Regions from separate parts of the Homo sapiens genome. Here regions 2, 3, 4, 5 and 6 are each linked to region 1. Evidence: promoter capture Hi-C in 16 types of primary human blood cells and fetal thymus (Javierre and others, 2016). All regions are on one chromosome and are shown on one strand. The core of a region is centred on a gene start or on the middle of the fragment in contact, and the rest is flanking DNA. Distances in the headings are between cores, read along the strand shown. Region 1 holds the start of RSPH4A (radial spoke head component 4A). Region 2 has its middle 11 kb from the start of TSPYL1. Region 3 overlaps NT5DC1 (5'-nucleotidase domain containing 1). Region 4 overlaps NT5DC1 (5'-nucleotidase domain containing 1). Region 5 overlaps TSPYL1 (TSPY like 1). Region 6 overlaps NT5DC1 (5'-nucleotidase domain containing 1).

Region 1 (3,019 bases), core at 319-2,818:
TTGTAGAGATGCAGTTTCACCATGTTGGCCAGGCTGGTCTCAAATTCCTGACCTCAACTGATCCACCTGCCGTGGCCTCTCAAAGTGCTGGGATTACAGGCATGAGCCATCTTGCCTGGCCCTCTGGCTTGTCTTTCAAAGAAAAAACACAAAAGTGCTGGGATTACCTGGTGAAAAAAAGACAAACTGCTTGGATTACAGGTGTGAGCTACCACACCTGGCCCTCTGGCTTGTCTTTCAAAGAAAAAAAAAGCCTCCATTACAGCTTGCCAGCTGCAAGGGAGAAATTAAGGGGGAAAAAATGCTAACTTCCTCAACTCTTGCACCAATTACCAAAAAACCCCAGAATTTATTGTTCTAGTTTATCTTAATGTTCTGTTTTTAGAAATCCAAGCATTCTAAATCCCAGACATTTGACTTTAAAGAGTCTCTGTACCAGCAGAAGTTATATTCAACATTTTGTGTGTGTGCACACAGTTTTTATCAAATTATTTTAGTCTGTGATTCCCTCACCACACTGAATGGAGGAGTATTATGTTCTTCCATGAAGTTAGAATTTAGAGCAACATCTTGCTAAATAGAAGCTATATCAATGTAAACTGTCAAATGCCAAGTATTTGTTGGTATATTTAGAAAGAGAAAGAAATACAAAACAATTAACATTAAAGACTTTAATTAATATATGGTTTATAGTTAAGTCCAGATATGGTCCAATCTTCTATACCTTCTTCATATTGGAGACTGTATACTATAAATGAATAGTCATAATCTTGAACTTAAATCATTGCAAAATTATGCATTTACATTTACATTATCAAATAAAAATTATATTATGCCAATATAGTTTAGTGTTAATTTGAATTTCAATTATTAGAAAACGGGTAACCCATGAATTGCCTATTTATAGGTTTTCTGCATTGCCTTCTCAAGTATAATATTCTGCCTAATCACCAGGAGATTCCTTATAAGCAGGAAGAACAAAACTCAGGACTGCTTTGTCTATTCTCCGAGTCTTTAGAGTTGGTTGGTTGTAGCTGATGCACGCTAAATGTGAGGCTTGGGGTCTCCTGGTCAGCACACTGGGGTCCCATTGTTACCTGCACCTCCGAGATTACCAAGGTCAGTCTCTTCCTCCCTCTCTACCCCTCACTCTCCTCTCTCCCTCCCTCCCTTCCTTCCTCCGTTCTTTCCTTCCTTCCTTCTCTCTCTCTCTCACACACACACACCCTCCACACACACGCTTCATGAATACACTGTCCCTCCACTAACGCACGACTCGCTCCTCACAGCACAACTTGGATCAGTCTCAGACCCCTAAAGGTCTCTCGCATGGGGTCGCCATTCTTCCTACTTTGTGCTCAAGGCGCAGGATCTGGAGTTCTCGGTTTCCAAGCAAGACTGGTCGAGTCTAGGTCGGATTGGCTGCGATAGAACGAGGGGCAGGGGTTGTACCGAATCACAAAGCTAGGATTTTCATCTCTCTCTCTCGTTCTCTCTTAGTCTCCGCCCTCGAATCCTGGCAACAGGCGCGGTGAGTTTTTCTGAGAGGAACCCGGCCTGGGGTTGCTATGGAGATAGGACGCAGCAACTCACAGAGCAACCAGGACCCAGAAATCGCTTAAGAGACCGCGGCAAAGTAACTTAACTGAGTTGCCTTCTTCCATATTTTCACGCCCCTTTCATCCAGAACATTTTTTTTCTTGAACTGCTTCCATGGAGGACTCAACCTCCCCGAAGCAAGAAAAAGAAAACCAAGAAGAACTAGGGGAAACAAGGCGGCCATGGGAAGGAAAGACAGCAGCTTCTCCCCAATATTCTGAGCCTGAGTCGTCTGAGCCCTTGGAGGCGAAGCAGGGGCCAGAAACTGGACGCCAGTCCCGAAGCAGCCGTCCTTGGAGCCCGCAGTCTAGAGCCAAGACGCCTCTGGGTGGCCCCGCGGGACCAGAAACATCATCACCTGCTCCTGTCTCTCCGCGGGAGCCCTCTTCCTCTCCTTCTCCCCTGGCTCCGGCCAGACAAGACCTCGCGGCACCACCTCAGTCGGACAGGACCACGAGTGTGATTCCTGAAGCTGGGACACCTTATCCTGATCCTTTGGAACAATCATCTGATAAAAGAGAATCAACTCCTCATCACACAAGCCAGTCAGAAGGAAACACCTTTCAACAGTCTCAGCAACCCAAACCCCACCTGTGTGGACGAAGGGACGTGAGCTATAACAACGCTAAACAGAAAGAGCTGAGATTTGACGTTTTTCAGGAGGAAGACTCAAACAGTGACTATGATTTACAGCAGCCGGCGCCTGGGGGCTCTGAAGTGGCCCCCAGCATGCTTGAGATCACCATTCAGAATGCTAAGGCTTACCTGCTGAAGACTAGCAGCAATTCGGGCTTTAATCTGTAAGTCTCAGAGGGAAAAAAGATAAATGTTTGGCAAAGCAAGAGGGTGTGTGAGTATCTCTGTGTGAGAGTGTGTTTCTGTGGGTGAATCAAAATATATTTGAAAGATTGTGTTAGTAAAAGAGAGTTAATGACATAACTCTGGATCACATGACTCAAAACAGGTCATTAATGGAGATTCTTGTACCTTCTTTTTCTTAACCTTTTTTTTTTTTTGTCCTTTTCCTCCAGCTTCTTTAAAGACCCTAGGCACACAACAAAATAAAACTTAGGAATTATGGAATCTCGGGCTTGAAAAAGACCATAAAGACCATAAAGTCCAAGCATCTCTCCAGGATGCTTGTGAAAAATAATTGTCTACCAGTGAAAGCAATCACGTCTCTCATCTGTAGATGCTATTGCTTGCATGGCTTTTGAGTTCCCAACCCAGGCAGTGCTAGGGTGACCACCATCTCAGTTTGGCTGAGCGCTGAAAGTTCTTTATCCTAAGAAACCCCTTAGTCCTCGCAAACTCGGAGAATTGGTCACTATACAAGCTACCTGGAACACATGCCATTTTATCCAAGTCTCTTAAAATGTGATGATCAATAGTCTACATATGTTCTGCCCATCCCATTATA
Region 2 (3,231 bases), core at 655-3,154, 330 kb before region 1:
GAGCTCATGTATCATACAAAAATATCAGAAATTTCTTTTTTAAATGGAAATATAGTCCTAGGGTCAAAGAACCTTTTCAGAACAACTAGACCTTCATGATAAAAAAAATAAAAATAATAAAAAGTAAAGAAAACCAGCCCTCTTGTTTTAAAACAAAATTCATCAAGGTCATTTACTACTTTCCACATACAAATTGATTCAATATGAAAAGTTCATATTATGGTATCCAGCTTAATACTTTGGTTGTCATAACACTTCATCCATTAGCTGAGAACTCTGCCTTGTGAGTTCTTTGGCTCTGAGACTATATTATAACTTCACTGGGTTTGTAAGCAAGCCATTCTATGCACATCTGTTTTAAAAATGTGACAGGTTGATTTGAAAAATACCATATTTCATTCATCATCATAAATAGAAATATTTATATTTATTGAATATTTACTACATAATAGATACTGTGTTAAATGCTTTTCATATATTATTTAATTGCCTCACCCCTCCATTACATAGGTAGTATTCACCCTGTTGTGAAGATTAAGAAATCCCAGAGATATCAGGTGACTTGCCTAAAGTTACATGACTAATAAGTAATGGAGTATGGATATAAACCCAGTTTATTGGCTTCAAAGCTCTTTGTACTATGCCATGTTGCTTTTCTGATTTCTTGAAATCTTTGACAGTAACCGGGGAACTCAAGGGTTACTGCCACCTATTTTCTAATAACTTCGTTTTCTTGGATCTGTATCATTAGTGCCTAGCACCTAGAAGATTCTTAGGCAGTGTTGGCTGCATTGATTGAATGATTCCACACTGATGGCTAGCTTAAACAGCCATGGAAACTTTAATTATAATATATTAATCTAAACAGGACATATGGTTTTTAGGAGTTAAGTGCCCTCAGGGGAAGCATTTACTAAATGTGGGGCACATTTTAAAAGTAATATCTCCTGCTACTGCTGATATTTCTAAATTAACAGTATTTCTAGATTCTCAGACTTGGGGTTCAGAGATTTCACTTGCTGATTAATTAATTCAAGGATATAAGAGCTCTAGCAAATAAATATTTTATTAATTTGTACTGTTCTACACTCAGGAGCAATTATTGAAAATCAAGGTTTGTTATCAGGAAATACATGAAGTCTTATTTGGAAATAATTCCTTAAAACTCATCCTGAGAAGAGACAATCTGCATCCTTCCCACTTAGTATATCATCTACCCATTTGTGGTCTCTCATAATTGGAAATATTTCCCTAATTCCAAAAGCAGAAAGGAATCCTCTTAACTGCTAACTTCTCTCCCAAAGGGAGAAACTTTTTCCAGCCAACCTCAGTGAAATTGTTGATTGAATGCTGATCCTAGAACTGCATTATGAATGCAAAAAAGTAAACAAAGCACCCATTCTAAGTTTGCTCAATTTTCTGGCCACCACTGTGCTCTGCAATGTCATCTGTAGCACAGAAGATTGGAGGCGTAGACTTGAGACCAGACCACTTCGTCTGTTCTTTCCAAACTCTCTAAATTCAAAACATTTGTTGAGGTTTATGCAGGACACAAGAGTTGTGGGATGGCATACAAAAATCTGAAAGTCATGGACTTTGTTCATTAGGGACCACAGTGTTGTGGAGAAGATAGACACAGAAACACATAATTATAATACCAGATGAAACAAACAATTATAATACCAGATGATACCAATAATTATAATACTAGGAGAGTGTTGTTCCAGCAAGAGAGATGTGGACAAAGGGCTTTGGGTGCACAGAATAGGAAATTTGTATTCCTATATTGATAAGAGAGCTTGGTAAGAATTCAGAGGTGATAATTTTGAGATGAGTCCTAATAAGAAAAATAAAATTATAATAAGAGAGAGGGGGTGAAAATTCCAGGTTGACTAAAATACCCTGAACAAAGACTCAAATACAAGTAGAAGTCCAGCCAGCTTGAGGAAATGACTGAAAGATAGGGAGATTAGTTGGGGGTGATGGTTAGGTAAAATGGAATCTGATAGTTAAAGGCTTTTTATTATACATTATTATATGTTTATGATATATTAAATATAATTATATATATACATATTTGTTAATCCTATGGGTATTAGAGGATATTGGAGGCTTTTAAACAGGGGATTGACATGGACAGTGTCAGAAAATAATATTAATTGCCATATGGAAAATGATGTGAAGGTTATATGATTAAAGGCTGGGATATCAGTTGTGAAGTATTATAAAAATGCAGGCAAGGGTAGATGAGGATATCTTTAGGAATGTAGTAACTGACAACAGAATATGTCAGATAAATTGTAGAACCAATTGAAAAACTAGATATGAAAGTAGACAAGAAGTTAAGGAAGACTGATTTGTTTAGTTTGGGTAACAAGGATGGGTGGAAATGTGATTGAGTTATGGAATACAGGAAGAAGATCGGGTTGTAGTGGGAGGAGAGATCAACAGTTCAGCTACAGACAAGGAGAGTTTCATGTGACTCTAGGGAGATGTTGGGTATTTGTAGATCAGATAGATTTGGGTATTTGTAGAGCAGGAGAAGAGTGGGGTTTACAGTTAGACTTGGAAATCTTGAGTGTTTAGGTGATAGTTGACATCATCAGAGTGGACGAGAACACCAGGAAGACAAGTAGAGGAAGAAGAAAGGAAGGCCAAAAATAGAGCTCTGAGGAACACTGACGTGAAAGAAACAGATGAGGTGGCACAAGTAGAGGAAACTGAGAAATAGCCATTAGAGGTAGGGAAAGAACCAGAAGAGTGTTGTTTCAGTATGCAAGGGAAGAATGGACTTCAGGAAGCTAAGGTTCAAGGGATGCAGCCATATTGAGTGAGATGAAGACTGGGAAGAAAAGTTTCCGAATTGGGCGGCAGCTATACAGCATGGGTGTCTTTAGTGAGAGCAATTTCAGAAAAGTAGCAAGACAGAAAAATTGCAGAGTTGAAAAAATGAATGATAAATGAACATATAGATAGTGTGTGAGGCCAGTTCTTTCATAATTGTCAGTATAGAAAAGGGGAAAGACTGGATGACAAGTTCAAGGAGATGCAGGGTTGAGGGAAGAATGTTTGTAGGGAGCAGCATTGTTGGGAGCAGAGTAAGGATCTGATTATTACACTGAAGTGTTGAGGAAGCAAACAAACAAAAAAAAAGAAAACAAACTGAATGTCAGTAAGTAGAAGAAAGGTTGGATAAATTATGGCATGTTTATACAACTGAATATTACGTAA
Region 3 (3,027 bases), core at 186-2,685, 410 kb before region 1:
ATGAGAGTGTGGGGTAAGTGTACACACATATATGCTGCTAACAATGTTAAAAACTATTGTCCCCAACAATTCTGAAAGCAAACTCAGTGTAAATATTAAGATTAGAAACGCAGATATGCAATGAGCCAGCCGTTTAACATTTATAAGCCCTAAAGAAGTACTCATATGTATACATGGACTCAGATACAATGTTGTTTACTCCAGAATTTATAATGAAAAAAATCACCAAAGTACTGTTGTATTCATATGCTGGATTGCAATGTTGTGGTTAAAAAGAATGAAGCGTTTCTAGAATGTAAGGTCTATGAGAGAAAAAACTTTGTCCATGTTTTCAACAAGTAGAACAATGAATAGTGTGTAGTAGGTGCTCAGTAATTATTTGTTATAATTACATGGCTAGATTTAAGTACGTGGCTAGATTTTGAAGTCATTTTTTTGGGTGAGGAAAGCAAATTGCACAAAATGTGTACTAGAAAATACATGTATATGTGTGTGTAAGTCCATAACACCTTATTGGAAAGATACACACCAAAATGTGAACTACATATGTGTGTATGCAAGTCCGTAGAAATTTATCTGAAAAGTATACAGTGCAGAAGTGTCCAAGCAAATAATACATTCATGGGTTCTTAGTTTCTGTTTCTGGTTAGGCCGGTAAAACCCCTTCCTCATCCCTCTTTTCTGCTTATCATTACAGACAGAAACTAAAAACCATGTCTTCAGGCTGCTAAAAGCCTAAAACAAAACAAAATAGAACAACAACAAAATAAGCTGGGCTGGACAAGCTTGGTGTGACACTAAAATGACAACAATGATACTAGGGACCAGAAACTGAGAGTACTATTTAGAGAAGACTTCAGACTTTTTTTTTATGTTTCAAAATTTAGAACATATATTTGGAAATTTGGAAGTGTTCACATATCTTACTTGAGTAATTACGAGATAATTTTAAAATAACATTTAACCTTAGAAAGATAATTTCCCTGTTATCTGGTAGGTTGGAACTTAACTGAGTCAGCAGCTTCTCCCTCTGGAGCCCCACAGTCTCTACACAGATATACAGAGCATCTGATCTTGCTAGACCTAGTCTTCCCAAAGGAAATTCCTTAAATATGTGGAATAAATTGGGGGGGAAAAAAGGCTGTTCAGATATTTTATACATTTCTTTAAGAATAAACCAGCTGTTTGTGTAGTTTCCGTCTTTATTCTGATTTTGTATTAAAAGGGTACATTTTAAATTTTTCACTAATTGTATTTACATCTTTACAACAAGGCTGTAATATGTCTTAATAAAGGGGATAAAACAATAAGATTAGTAGATATGACAGTAAGGAATGTGTAATGAAAAAATCAAAGAGACCAAGATTTTCATTCCATCCTGCTGTTTTCCTCATTATGTCATGATGATAGGCAAGTCAGCCTCTCTAGGCCTCATTTTCATATCTGCACAATGAGATTAGGTTTTGTGGTCCCCAAGGTTCTAATAGCTACCCCAAGTTTCTCTGCTCAGTCCTTTGAGAATGATCTAATAGACCATTGGACCATCTAGCCCAGTGTTTTTTCCTGGAAGTAACAAAAAGTAGAACCACCCTGCCTCCTGCTCAGTAGGACTTTTAGGGTTTTTTCATAGCATATGTTTCAAAATATGTTTTGAAGGTAAGTAGCATTTTGATAAGGGAAATCTTGCATTTTGGGCCCATGCAGGGCAATTCCATGATGCAGTGTGGCCCATAGCATTTCGTGGTTAATCAACTGCCTGTACTTAGGCCAGAGGAACTTGTTAAAGTAAAAATAGCTCTAACACAAAATTTTTACTATGTGTAAAGCATTGTGCTAAATGTTTCACATATATCATTGCATATAATTCACACAATTACCTAATGGGGTGAGTGTTATAACTGTGATCATTTTATAGATAAGCCAACAGTCTCTCAATGACTAAAGCACTTACCCAAGGAAATTGCACAACTAAGACTTGACTCAAGACTGTCTGATTTGGGTCCATACCACCCAGGAACACTGGAGACCATATCCTGTAATATACTTTTATCTGTGTGTCTACTCTGGTACAGAACTTTGTGCTCTGAAGCTTTTCAGTAGAAATGGAATAGCAACTCTCCTTACATCAACAGCAACAGCTGTTTCTTAATGAAGTCACCTGCAAATTATGAATTTCTTTCTGCCATCCCTCCTACCCTGCTCCATAATGATTTAATTTGCTGGCATGAGACATTTAGATAAAGTTCCTTTTGATGTTTTAAATGGATTTTATATCTGGAGGGCAAAACATTTTCTTTGCCATAGTTTTTAGATAAACTGTTAATTGGTCGAAGTCTAGTGCAGTTTCCTCTTTACTCACATTTTTCTTCATTGAATACACATAGGGCATTTAGTGTTTATTGCTAACATTTGCCAAATAATTGTGTGCAAAATATTTGTCTCATTTAAATTGGATTTTAAATGTTTTCTTCTTGTTTATTGAGTAATTCTAGAATTTAAAGTTCTCTGGATTTATATTGACATCTTTCCTTTTAAAAATAAATAGTCTGATCACTTATGTCATATGCTTTCTTAACAAACTTTTTCCTAGGTCAAAAGAATGTAATTTTTTATTAGAAAATAGTTTCATTATTACAATATTGTTTTATTCAGATCCTCTGGGAGCTGATATCTCTGCATTAATAACTATACCTATTCCCTGCCTACAGCAGATTTCTTCCACTTTATTCTGAAAGATTGAAGGTATGCACTCAATAAATGGATCATATGTCTTAAGAAATCATGGGAAAAAATATTTCTGTACCTGCATTTCCTTTTAAGATCAATAGAGTCTATAGCTATAGAAGTAAATGTTTTCTTTTTTATGGTGGACTTAATGTATTCTAAAGAGAGAAAGCAAAAAAAATCCTTTACAATCTTTAATTAGATAGATGATAGATACATATGTCCATATTATATAGGTAAAGACTAAGTTTATAACCTTATTTTTCAGATTTTTTTTCATGCTTACCGGGTAAAGAGTTACTT
Region 4 (2,500 bases), core at 1-2,500, 500 kb before region 1:
ATGTCAAGACAATAAATAGTAACTGCAGAATATTTGTTCAAACTGCATATTTCTCTGTCACCTGCTTCTTTCCCTCCCAGGAGAAAATTACAACTTTGGGGTGATTTTGTCATTTTTCTATCCCTAGTCATCAGCCCTTGACCCTGACTCAGATTGCATGTGGTTTTGTGGGTACCTCTTCACAGTCAACAATGAGTGGTTGGGTCTGTGGGAATAAAGATGCATCACCAATATAGGGACATATCCATGACAACTGTAAAAGCCACCCATCACTTTATTGTCCTACTTTTTTATTAACTTTGAACAATGAAAAGCCTTGAAAGAATGGTTGAGAACAGCAAATTGCTGCTTTCAAATTAATTCAGCCTAAAAATCTATTGATGTTATTTTATTGCGTCGTAAATAAGGAGTAGGTAAAACATTTTGTGCTTTAATAAGTGAGGCACAGCTTAAAAGTTTTAAACAGCAATATAAAAATACAGTACAGTGCATAAATAAATAATATATCTCCACTTCTAGTCGAATTTTGAAACCCTCAGTGTAAATTATAACTTCACTTGAATGGGAGGCACAAGGTACATGTGCTAATGTTCTGTAAATCCAGAAAATCATATCACATAAGATTCAATAAGGAATTAAAGAAATCAAATTAATCACACTTGTGTTAACTAAATAAGAATAGGTCAGATACCTGTTTCCAAGTTATGCTGGGTATATAAAAAGCTTCTCTGCAATCATAGAAAAGTTTGAAAAGGTTCATTGATGAAAGCACCTTGCATTTCAGATGAACTTCAATATTTTGGGGCTTTTTTATATAAGAGCTTTAACAAGTATATATGCACCTGTATATTTGAATAGATATTGATGAAAGGGGCCATACAGGCCTCAGAGTAGTGCACCATCAGAAATATTTTAGGGGATACAGTGTCTTTTAAATTTGAATATTCAAGTATTTAAGTTCTACAAAGTTATATGATACCTCCTGGATGTTTCCTAGAAGTTCTCATATTCATAGTTAGAAACAGGCTTTTTTAAAAAGGAAATGCCGAGTTTCTCAAATCAAATTTCACATAACTTAGAGCTCTATTTCTGTTTTTTTTTTTAATTTTTTTTTTGTTGTTTGTTTTTTGTTGTTTGTTTTTAACATAGCAGGACTTCTTTGGTGATATTTTTTAATATTGGAGAAAACCTTAAAGAGCCTTAAGATTGCTAACTAGAAATTCAAGAGAGGCTTCACATACGTTTTTACGTTGCTGCTCACTTTTCAGGGGGAAGGTTTGTTGGTCTGATAGCTCAAATCTGTATTTCAGAAAATAAAAATTACATTCTTTTCAGCCTACCTCCATATGCATTTTGTAGGGTGGGGTAGAGTTAGAGAATGCTTTTTCTAGCACAAGATTTAGATTAGCTCTGTGTGTACTCACATTGGAGCCACTAGGAATCCTGAGAAAGAGGAGTGGACATACTCAGAGGAGTATAGGCCATTTGACTCGGCATTGGGAAGCTGGAGCCACACCTGGTCATTTTCTGTGAGATCGATGATGGCACTCCCTGAAGCCTGATCCAGGTAGCCTTTGGTGTATTCATCATAGGTGTACATTACAGGGGTGCCATTCTTATACAGGCCTACCCAAACATGAGTCCCTTTCACATGCACGTGGTATGAAAAATAGTATATTCCTGGTATCTGACAAGTAAAGATTCCAGTCCTTGGGTCATAATGCTGTTGCCTGTTATACAAAATTTTATCAAATGGTATGGGAGTTCCTATTGCTGGGTAAGCTTTGGAGAGAATAACAGTAAAAGCAGACACAGGCATTCCTGTTACCCCCTGGTTGGCACTAACAAGAGGGGTCCCAGAAAGACTGGGCCTTTGGCCTGCCTTTATAAAACCCTCAGGCATGACTGCTTGACCTGGTGGGCCTGGAGGCCCAGGGGGCCCTGGAAGACCAGGCTCTCCAGAGTGGCCTCTTGGACCTGGAGGCCCTGGTGGCCCGGTGGGTCCATTGAGGCCCTTAGTTGCTATGCCAGCTGGGCCAGGAGGACCGGGACTTCCTGGATCCCCTTTAGACCCAGGGAATCCTGGAATGCCTGGTGGCCCAATAGGGCCTCTAGTACCTGGTATTCCAGGGGCACCTCTTGGGCCAGCCTCTCCATTGTGTCCGGGCATTCCCTTTGCTCCTGCTGGGCCCACAGGGCCTGGGAGACCAGGAGGTCCTCCAACTCCAGGATCACCTTTTGGACCTGGTAACCCTGGGTTACCCTTAGGACCATCGAGACCTGGTTTTCCTGGGTACCCTGGTTTTCCATCTGACCCAGGGGAACCCCTTTCACCCTTAGCCCCAGGGTATCCTGCAGGCCCAGCTGGCCCTGTCTCACCTTTAGGGCCTGGGAGACCATGGCTACCCGGGATGCCTTTTGGTCCTTGGGGTCCCATATTCCCAGGGGGTCCAGTCAGACCTGGCTTCCCAGGAAGACCTGCTGGCCCTTGTTCCCCTTT
Region 5 (3,183 bases), core at 45-2,544, 340 kb before region 1:
ACCCCTGCAAATGTCCTCAAGCTTTACCGTTACTCCCCTCAACCTTGAGGCTACCATTCCTGGGATTTCTATCACCATAAAAAAGTTTTCTATGCTAGTGAATTTCATATACATGGAATCATATAATATATATTCCTTTGACATCTTTCACTTAACATGTCTCTGAGATTCATCCATGTTGATGATCAATAGGTTGTTCCTCTTTATTGTTGAGTGGTGTTCCATTGTATGAATATACCATAATTTGTTCATTCACTCACTTGTTGGTGAACATTTGGGCTGTTTCTAGTTTGGGGCTGTTATAAATAAAACTGCTATGACCATTCCTGTGCTACATGTAAATTATACTTTATTAAAGAAAACAACAAATACCAAGTATCTATTAAAACATCTTTGGACACTTTAAAAGAGCAAATAGTGATCAACAGAAGTAAAGCATATCACTAAGAAATCATTTCCTTTTTTGGCAAGGGAATTTCAAAGACAGACGACACCTGCTGTTATGAATTTTAAAGACCTCTTTTGTTGAATTCAGGTTAATTCCATTCTGCAAGACCACAGGGGGGAAACTATGAAATAGATATACTGAAACTCTACGATATACCAGGCTCTTTGCAATAGCTGGATGTTTATAAGGTGGCAAATTTGAATCAATTTGACAAAACTGGGAAGGGAGTATGTATTCCCTAACTTAAGGAGTTCAAGAAAAGGTAAGCCATGATTCTCAAACTCAGCTGCACTTTAGGCTGTAATTTAATTGGTTCAGGGTAGAGTCTTGGCATCAGTATTTTTTGAAAGCTCAAAGCTATATATAATGATCAGCCAGGTTTGAGAACCATGAAGCTAGATGACTATTTGTCTGAATGTAAATTAAATGAGAAATTAAAATTGAGAGGAAGACAAATGGAAATTTTAATTGATTGCATATTATATGCTAGACATGATGCTTGCTGTCTAACCTCTATATTATAACTATATTAATACTTGAAATCTCTTAGCACAGTGTCAGGCGCAAAGTAAGCTCTCAAATGTTTCTGTTGTTATCTTCTCTGTAACCTTATAATGCAGTCTCCAAATGCATCCTAAAACATTAGCTTATACTGCAAGTTTTATCATCCCTACATTATGGATAAGGAAACCAAGATTCAGAGTAGTTTATTTTGGGAAATGCAATACATGGTAATTGTAAAACCGGGATTTAATCCTAATTTAAAGCTAGTATGCCTTCTCTGCCCATCAGGTCATATCTAAGACATATAGGTGTTCACAAAAATTAGTAACTTACTTAAATGACCCTTTCCTTTTTAATTGAACCATTTCCTTTTACCTGTTCTCAAAGAAATTACCTTAAATACAAATCCTAAAAAAAGTGAAGCCAAAAAGTAGACATCCACATTTTTCCTAATGTGGCTTGATAGAAACTCTTCTATAGGTCTTGACAACCTCTGAGGTCAGAGAGAATGGATTAAGATGGCCCTTCAGAGCTCAAAGCACTTAACATGGAGAAAGTACTGCTTCCAAGTAAAACACCTCCCATAATAATAAATGCATAGAGAGCATACCTGTCACTTCTATATAGTCTAGGACTTTAATTATATAATAATGTTGAAGGAAAGGAAGTCAGTCCTGAGGGGGATGGTCAACTCCTCTCAGCCAGGCTGGTCCTCTCTGAGTTTGCTTGTGTGCAGTAGATGTTTTGAATGTGTGTATTTGCTGCAGAAAAAAAGGAAACATTCAAGGAACGGTACCCCCCTCAATGAGCCTGAGTTCCTCAAGGGCAAAGACAACCTTTACTATCCCATTCAATCCTTACTTATGCTAGTATTCAATAAACAACTACTGCAAGATTACAATTACAGACCACTAATTTTCAAAAAGTATGTTTTTTTGTTTTTTTTTTTTTTTGAGACGAAGTCTCTCTTGTCCCCAGGCTGGAGTGCCATGGCTCAATCTTGGCTCACTGCAGCCTCCACCTCTTGGGTTCAAGCGATTCTCCTGCCTCAGCCTCCCGAGTAGCTGGAATTACAGGCGCCTGCCACCACACCCAGCTAATTTTTGTAATTTTAGTAGAGACGGGGTTTCACCATGTTGGCCAGGCTGGTCTCGAACTCCTGACCTCAGGTGATCCAGCCGCCTCGGCCTCCCAAAGTGCTGGGATTTCAGGCGTGAGCCACCCTGCCCGGCTGCTTTTTCAAGTAGTACGCGTTCATTGAACTGACTTAATGCAGAGCTAGACTCAGATATTTTCCTTTTCTGTTGCTAGCCAACTGTTAAAATACGACTGAAAATATTTTCTGAACATCATGTACATTTGTAAACTAAAAATAGAGCATTTGGCCGGGCACAGTGGCTCACGCCTGTAATCCCAGCATTTTGGGAGGCCGAGGCAGGCACATCGCCTGAGGTCGGGAGTTTGAGACCAGCGTGACCAACATGGAGAAACCCCATCTCTCTACCAAAAACACAAAATTAGCCGGGCGTGGTGGCGCATGCCTATAATCCCAGCTACTGGGGAGGCTGAGGCAGGAGAATCGCTTGAACCCAGGAGGCAGAGGTTGCGGTGAGCGGAAGCTTGCCATGAGCCGAGATGGTGCCATTGCACTCCAGCCTGAGCAACAAGAGCAAAACTCTGTCTCAAAAAAAAAAAAAAGAGCATTTTACTTTAGAAAATATGCATATATTGGTCTTAAAAGTCACTAAAAATTAAACCAATATAACTGTGTCAATTTGGCATCAAAATCTACCCTGCCTATATCAAGAAAGTGTTGCACAGTACATTTTGCAAAATATTCAGTGCATCTTAAGTACTCAAGAACAGTTCATTAAAGAAATTTTACTCACCTTCTTTTTACCCATTGGCCTTGAATTTAAGCAAGATAACCCTTATCTTAGTCACAAGAAGCTTCAGGAGGAGAAAGTATTAACATGTTTAATTTTTACAGATATTTTATATGCTTTCAGATATTCCTCAGGAAGTCGAGACATGCTGTCCTATGTAATTTTAGATTTACTAGTAGCCACATTAAACAATGGCAAAATGAGGATAATTAATTTTTCAATATATTTTAACACAATGTCAAAAATATTTCAACATGCAATCAATATGAAAAAAATTGAGATATTTTAACATTTTTCTTTCCATACTGAGTCTTCAAAATCCAGTGTGAATTTTATATTTATAGA
Region 6 (3,431 bases), core at 403-2,902, 390 kb before region 1:
CAAGGCCCAGTAAGAGAGTAGTTTTGTCACATTCTAGTAACAGAGAAGAGACCTGCCATTCTGGCACATGGTCATGGGGTGGGAGGGGGTGAAGTTAGGGAGGCAGGCACCCGCATAAGCGGTGGAAAGGGGTTTAAATTTTATTCCACAAGTAACCTGAAGCTGTTCCATTGTTTGAGGCAGAAGAGTGATATAAGAGACTACTTTGGCTGCTGGGTGGGGAATGGTTTGAGTGTGGGGAAGGATGGGAAGAAGAAGACCTGGCAACTGCAGCGTCCCTAGTAAGATAACTGTCGTGGTTTGGTCCAGAGCGACAGTACTGGAAATGGAGAGAGGTAGATACATTTAAATACATTATGGAGTTGGAAAACACAGAGGGCTCGGTGATACTTAAAGAAACAGCAGACAAAAAGAAAGGAGTAATAAAAAATAACTTCCAGGTGGTTGATTTTTCTTTTTCCTCAAATGAGCAAGTGAGTAGATGGTGGTACCATTTACAGACTTGGGGAAAAATACAGAGGATAAAGTTGTGTGGAGTAGGGGTTATATCTGTTAAGAACTCATTTTTCAACATGTTAATTTTGAGATGCCTATGAGTTATGTAACTGTCACTATCAATTAGGAAATTGTATAAATATGCCTGGAGTCCAAGGGAACAAGTCTAGGCTCAAGATATGTATTGGGAGTAATCAGCTCATAGATAGGTATTTGAAGCCAGGGGATTATATGAAACCAAATATTGAGAGAATGTAGATAGGCAAAAGGCCTGGACCAAGCCCTGACATTCTCTAATATTAAAGATAGAGAAGAAAGAGTGCAGTGTGGCAGCAGATAGATTATAGTAGGGAAAACAGTAGAATACGTGTTCAGAAGCCAGAGGAAAGAGGAAAGGGTAGCCAGCTAGTCCAAATGCTACAGAAAAAGTCCACTGAAATGAGGAAGGAGAAATCTTCCCTGGGGTGGACAAGATGGAGATCACTAGTGCCTCAGTGAACAGTTGCCATAGAGTGGTGGGATAGAAACTAAATTGCAGTATCTTGAGTAGTTCATTGGAGGTATGGAACCAGGGTATATGTGCAGCTCTTTCTAGAATTTTAGCTCTAAAGGCAGTCAAAGAATTGAGGTTTTAGCTAGAAGACAGTGTAGGATTAAGGGCATATTTTATTTTTTTAAGATCGAAGATACTGGAATATGTATATGTGCTGATGAGAATGATCTGCTGCAGTGGTTTTCAACGGTGGCAGTTTTGCCCTTCAGTGCAAATTTGGCAATGTCTGGAGACGTTTTTGGTTGTCGCAACTTTGGAGGGGGGTGGAGGCTGGGTGTGCTGCTAAGCAGCCTACAGCACACAGGACAGCACCCCCCAACGACGAAGAATTATCTAGCCCCAAATCTCAGTAGTGCCAAGGCTAAGAAACCCTAGTCTAGTACAAAGAAATAGGTTGATGTTGTTTTTATATATTGGTTTAAAGTCTTATATAATAAAATCCTTGATATTAAGAAATAATCTGTTATCAAGAATTCTAATAATATTCTTATAATTAAACCAGAAAAAAATTTAAATGTTTTTCCCTACTTTACAAACTTACATTTAAATATATAAGTAAGTACCCAATAAATATTTGTTTTTATTTTTATTTTTGTGGGGTTTGCATATTTTGTTCCAAGAAAATCTATACCCCTTTTATACCCATAGTAGTATTTATGCCATTCCATAAGATTTTTATTAAAATTTCACACAAAGATACAATTAATGGAAAACTGCACGTTAAAAATATACCAAGTTTTTTTTAACATGTTGGAAATTATAAATGCATTAAATATGCTGACAATTTACAGCATTTTATGTAGTTTTTCTCTATTTAATTGAGAGTATCCTGAGAAAAAGGGTGGAGTTTTTAAAAAACGATTACTTTAGAAGTACCTATCTTAAGACTTCTGTGCAGTATTTTCTGTTAGTTGTATAGTACAATTGGATTTGAGGGCTGACATAATAATGATGTTTATCCAAACTATATATTTTTAAATATTATACTCATCAAAAGACTTGAAAGTCTTTTTGATTGAATTTATGGTATGGAAATATTAGGAATCTAAACTTTAAAAATAAGCACATCCTGATAATAAATATACCATTTTAAAAAATTGTTTTACATTTTGGGTTGTATAAACACTTAGTTTTTTAATTTCTACTTTCTCTAATTTGTATTTCATTTATTTTTTAATTGACAAGTAAAAATTATATATTTATGTTGTACAACATGGTATTTTGATATATATATAGATTGTAGAATGGCTAAATGATACTATTTAAATAGGTATTACCTCACATTATCATTTTTTGTGTGTGTGGTAAGAACACTTAAAATCTATTCTCTTAGTAAATTTCAAATATACAATATATTATTTTTAACTCTGCATTTTGTACAATATATTTCTTGGATTTATGGATTTATTCCTCCTACCTGAAATTTTGTGTCCTTTGACCAACATCTCCTAATACCCCTACCCCTAGCCTCACATAACCACCATTTTACTTTCTGATTCTATGAGTTTGGCTTTTTTACATTCCAAATGTAAGTGAGATCATATGGTATTTGTCTTTCTGTGCCTGGCTTATTTTGCTTAACATTGTGTCCTCCAGGTTCATCCATGTTGTCACAAATGACAGGATTTCTTTCTTGTTAAGGTCAAATAGTATTCCATTATGTATATATACCATATTTTCTTTATCCTTTAATCTGCTAATGGACATTTCGGTTGATTTCATATCTTTTGTGAATAATGCTGTAATGAACATGGGAGTGCAGATAGCTCAACATACCAATTTCATACATTTTGCATATATACTCAGTATTGGAGTTGCTGGATCATATGGTAGTTCTGTTTTTAATTATTTTGAAGAACCTCCACACTTTTTTCCGTAATGGCTAAACTAATTTACAATCCCACCAAGAATGTACAAGGATTCCCTTTTCTCCACATGCTCTTTAACACTTATCTTTTGTCTTTTTGATAACAGCCATTCTAATAGGTATGAGGTGATATCTCATTATGGTTTTAATTTGTATTTCCCCAATGCTTAGTGATGTTGAGCACTTTTTCGTATAACTGCTAGACATTTGTATATCTTTTTGAGAAATGTCTATTCAGGTCCTTTGCTCATTTTTTTAATTGGGTTATTTGTTTCCTTACTATTGAGATGAGTTCCTTTTATAGTTTGGATATTAACCCCTTATCAGATGTATGGTTTGCAAATATTTTCTACCATTCTACAGATTGTTTTCACTTTGTTGACTGTTTTCTTTGTGGTTGCGTAGCTTTTTAGTATTATGTAATCTCATTTATCTATTTTTGCTTTTGTTGTCTGTGCATTTCGGGATATAGCCAGAAAGTCTGATAAAAATTTCATTTTAACTAGCAGTCTACTG

Evidence for each region. The method cuts DNA at HindIII sites, captures the fragments that hold promoters and counts their contacts. A CHiCAGO score of 5 or more calls a contact.
Region 2: a fragment that was not itself captured here is called in contact with the fragment with the promoter of RSPH4A in region 1 in 2 of 17 cell types (naive B cells and fetal thymus); the score reaches 6.8 in naive B cells.
Region 3: a fragment that was not itself captured here is called in contact with the fragment with the promoter of RSPH4A in region 1 in 2 of 17 cell types (naive B cells and M0 macrophages); the score reaches 7.1 in naive B cells.
Region 4: a contact is called between a fragment that was not itself captured here and the fragment with the promoter of RSPH4A in region 1, in 1 of 17 cell types (monocytes). The highest score is 8.4, in monocytes.
Region 5: a contact is called between a fragment that was not itself captured here and the fragment with the promoter of RSPH4A in region 1, in 1 of 17 cell types (total B cells). The highest score is 8.1, in total B cells.
Region 6: a contact is called between a fragment that was not itself captured here and the fragment with the promoter of RSPH4A in region 1, in 6 of 17 cell types (total B cells, M0 macrophages, monocytes and 3 more). The highest score is 9.0, in total B cells.

What each region holds. Positions count from the first base shown.
Region 1 is chr6:116,614,911-116,617,929 of GRCh38, forward strand. It overlaps RSPH4A (radial spoke head component 4A), which reads left to right and starts at 1,569. Exons shown (of 6, transcript NM_001010892.3): 1 at 1,569-2,399. The coding sequence starts at 1,714. RefSeq lists enhancers at 1,619-1,718, 1,769-1,888. The HindIII fragment of the contact is 5,584 bases long and covers 1-3,019 here.
Region 2 is chr6:116,289,529-116,292,759 of GRCh38, forward strand. It overlaps a transcript of DSE not described here. Among named protein-coding and RNA genes, the nearest start is that of TSPYL1, 11 kb to the left of the region's middle. The HindIII fragment of the contact is 6,300 bases long and covers 1-3,231 here.
Region 3 is chr6:116,204,474-116,207,500 of GRCh38, forward strand. All of the region lies in intron 6 of NT5DC1 (5'-nucleotidase domain containing 1), which reads left to right. It also overlaps a transcript of COL10A1 not described here. Among named protein-coding and RNA genes, the nearest start is that of TSPYL4, 48 kb to the right of the region's middle. The HindIII fragment of the contact is 1,304 bases long and covers 784-2,087 here.
Region 4 is chr6:116,118,653-116,121,152 of GRCh38, forward strand. All of the region lies in intron 6 of NT5DC1 (5'-nucleotidase domain containing 1), which reads left to right. It overlaps COL10A1 (collagen type X alpha 1 chain), which reads right to left. Exons shown (of 3, transcript NM_000493.4): 3 at 257-2,500. The coding sequence ends at 1,421. Among named protein-coding and RNA genes, the nearest start is that of COL10A1, 6.2 kb to the right of the region's middle. The HindIII fragment of the contact is 1,059 bases long and covers 722-1,780 here.
Region 5 is chr6:116,271,945-116,275,127 of GRCh38, forward strand. TSPYL1 (TSPY like 1) reads right to left here. Exons shown (of 1, transcript NM_003309.4): 1 at 2,914-3,183. It also overlaps a transcript of DSE not described here. Among named protein-coding and RNA genes, the nearest start is that of TSPYL1, 6.4 kb to the right of the region's middle. The HindIII fragment of the contact is 2,550 bases long and covers 20-2,569 here.
Region 6 is chr6:116,224,629-116,228,059 of GRCh38, forward strand. All of the region lies in intron 8 of NT5DC1 (5'-nucleotidase domain containing 1), which reads left to right. Among named protein-coding and RNA genes, the nearest start is that of TSPYL4, 28 kb to the right of the region's middle. The HindIII fragment of the contact is 5,275 bases long and covers 1-3,431 here.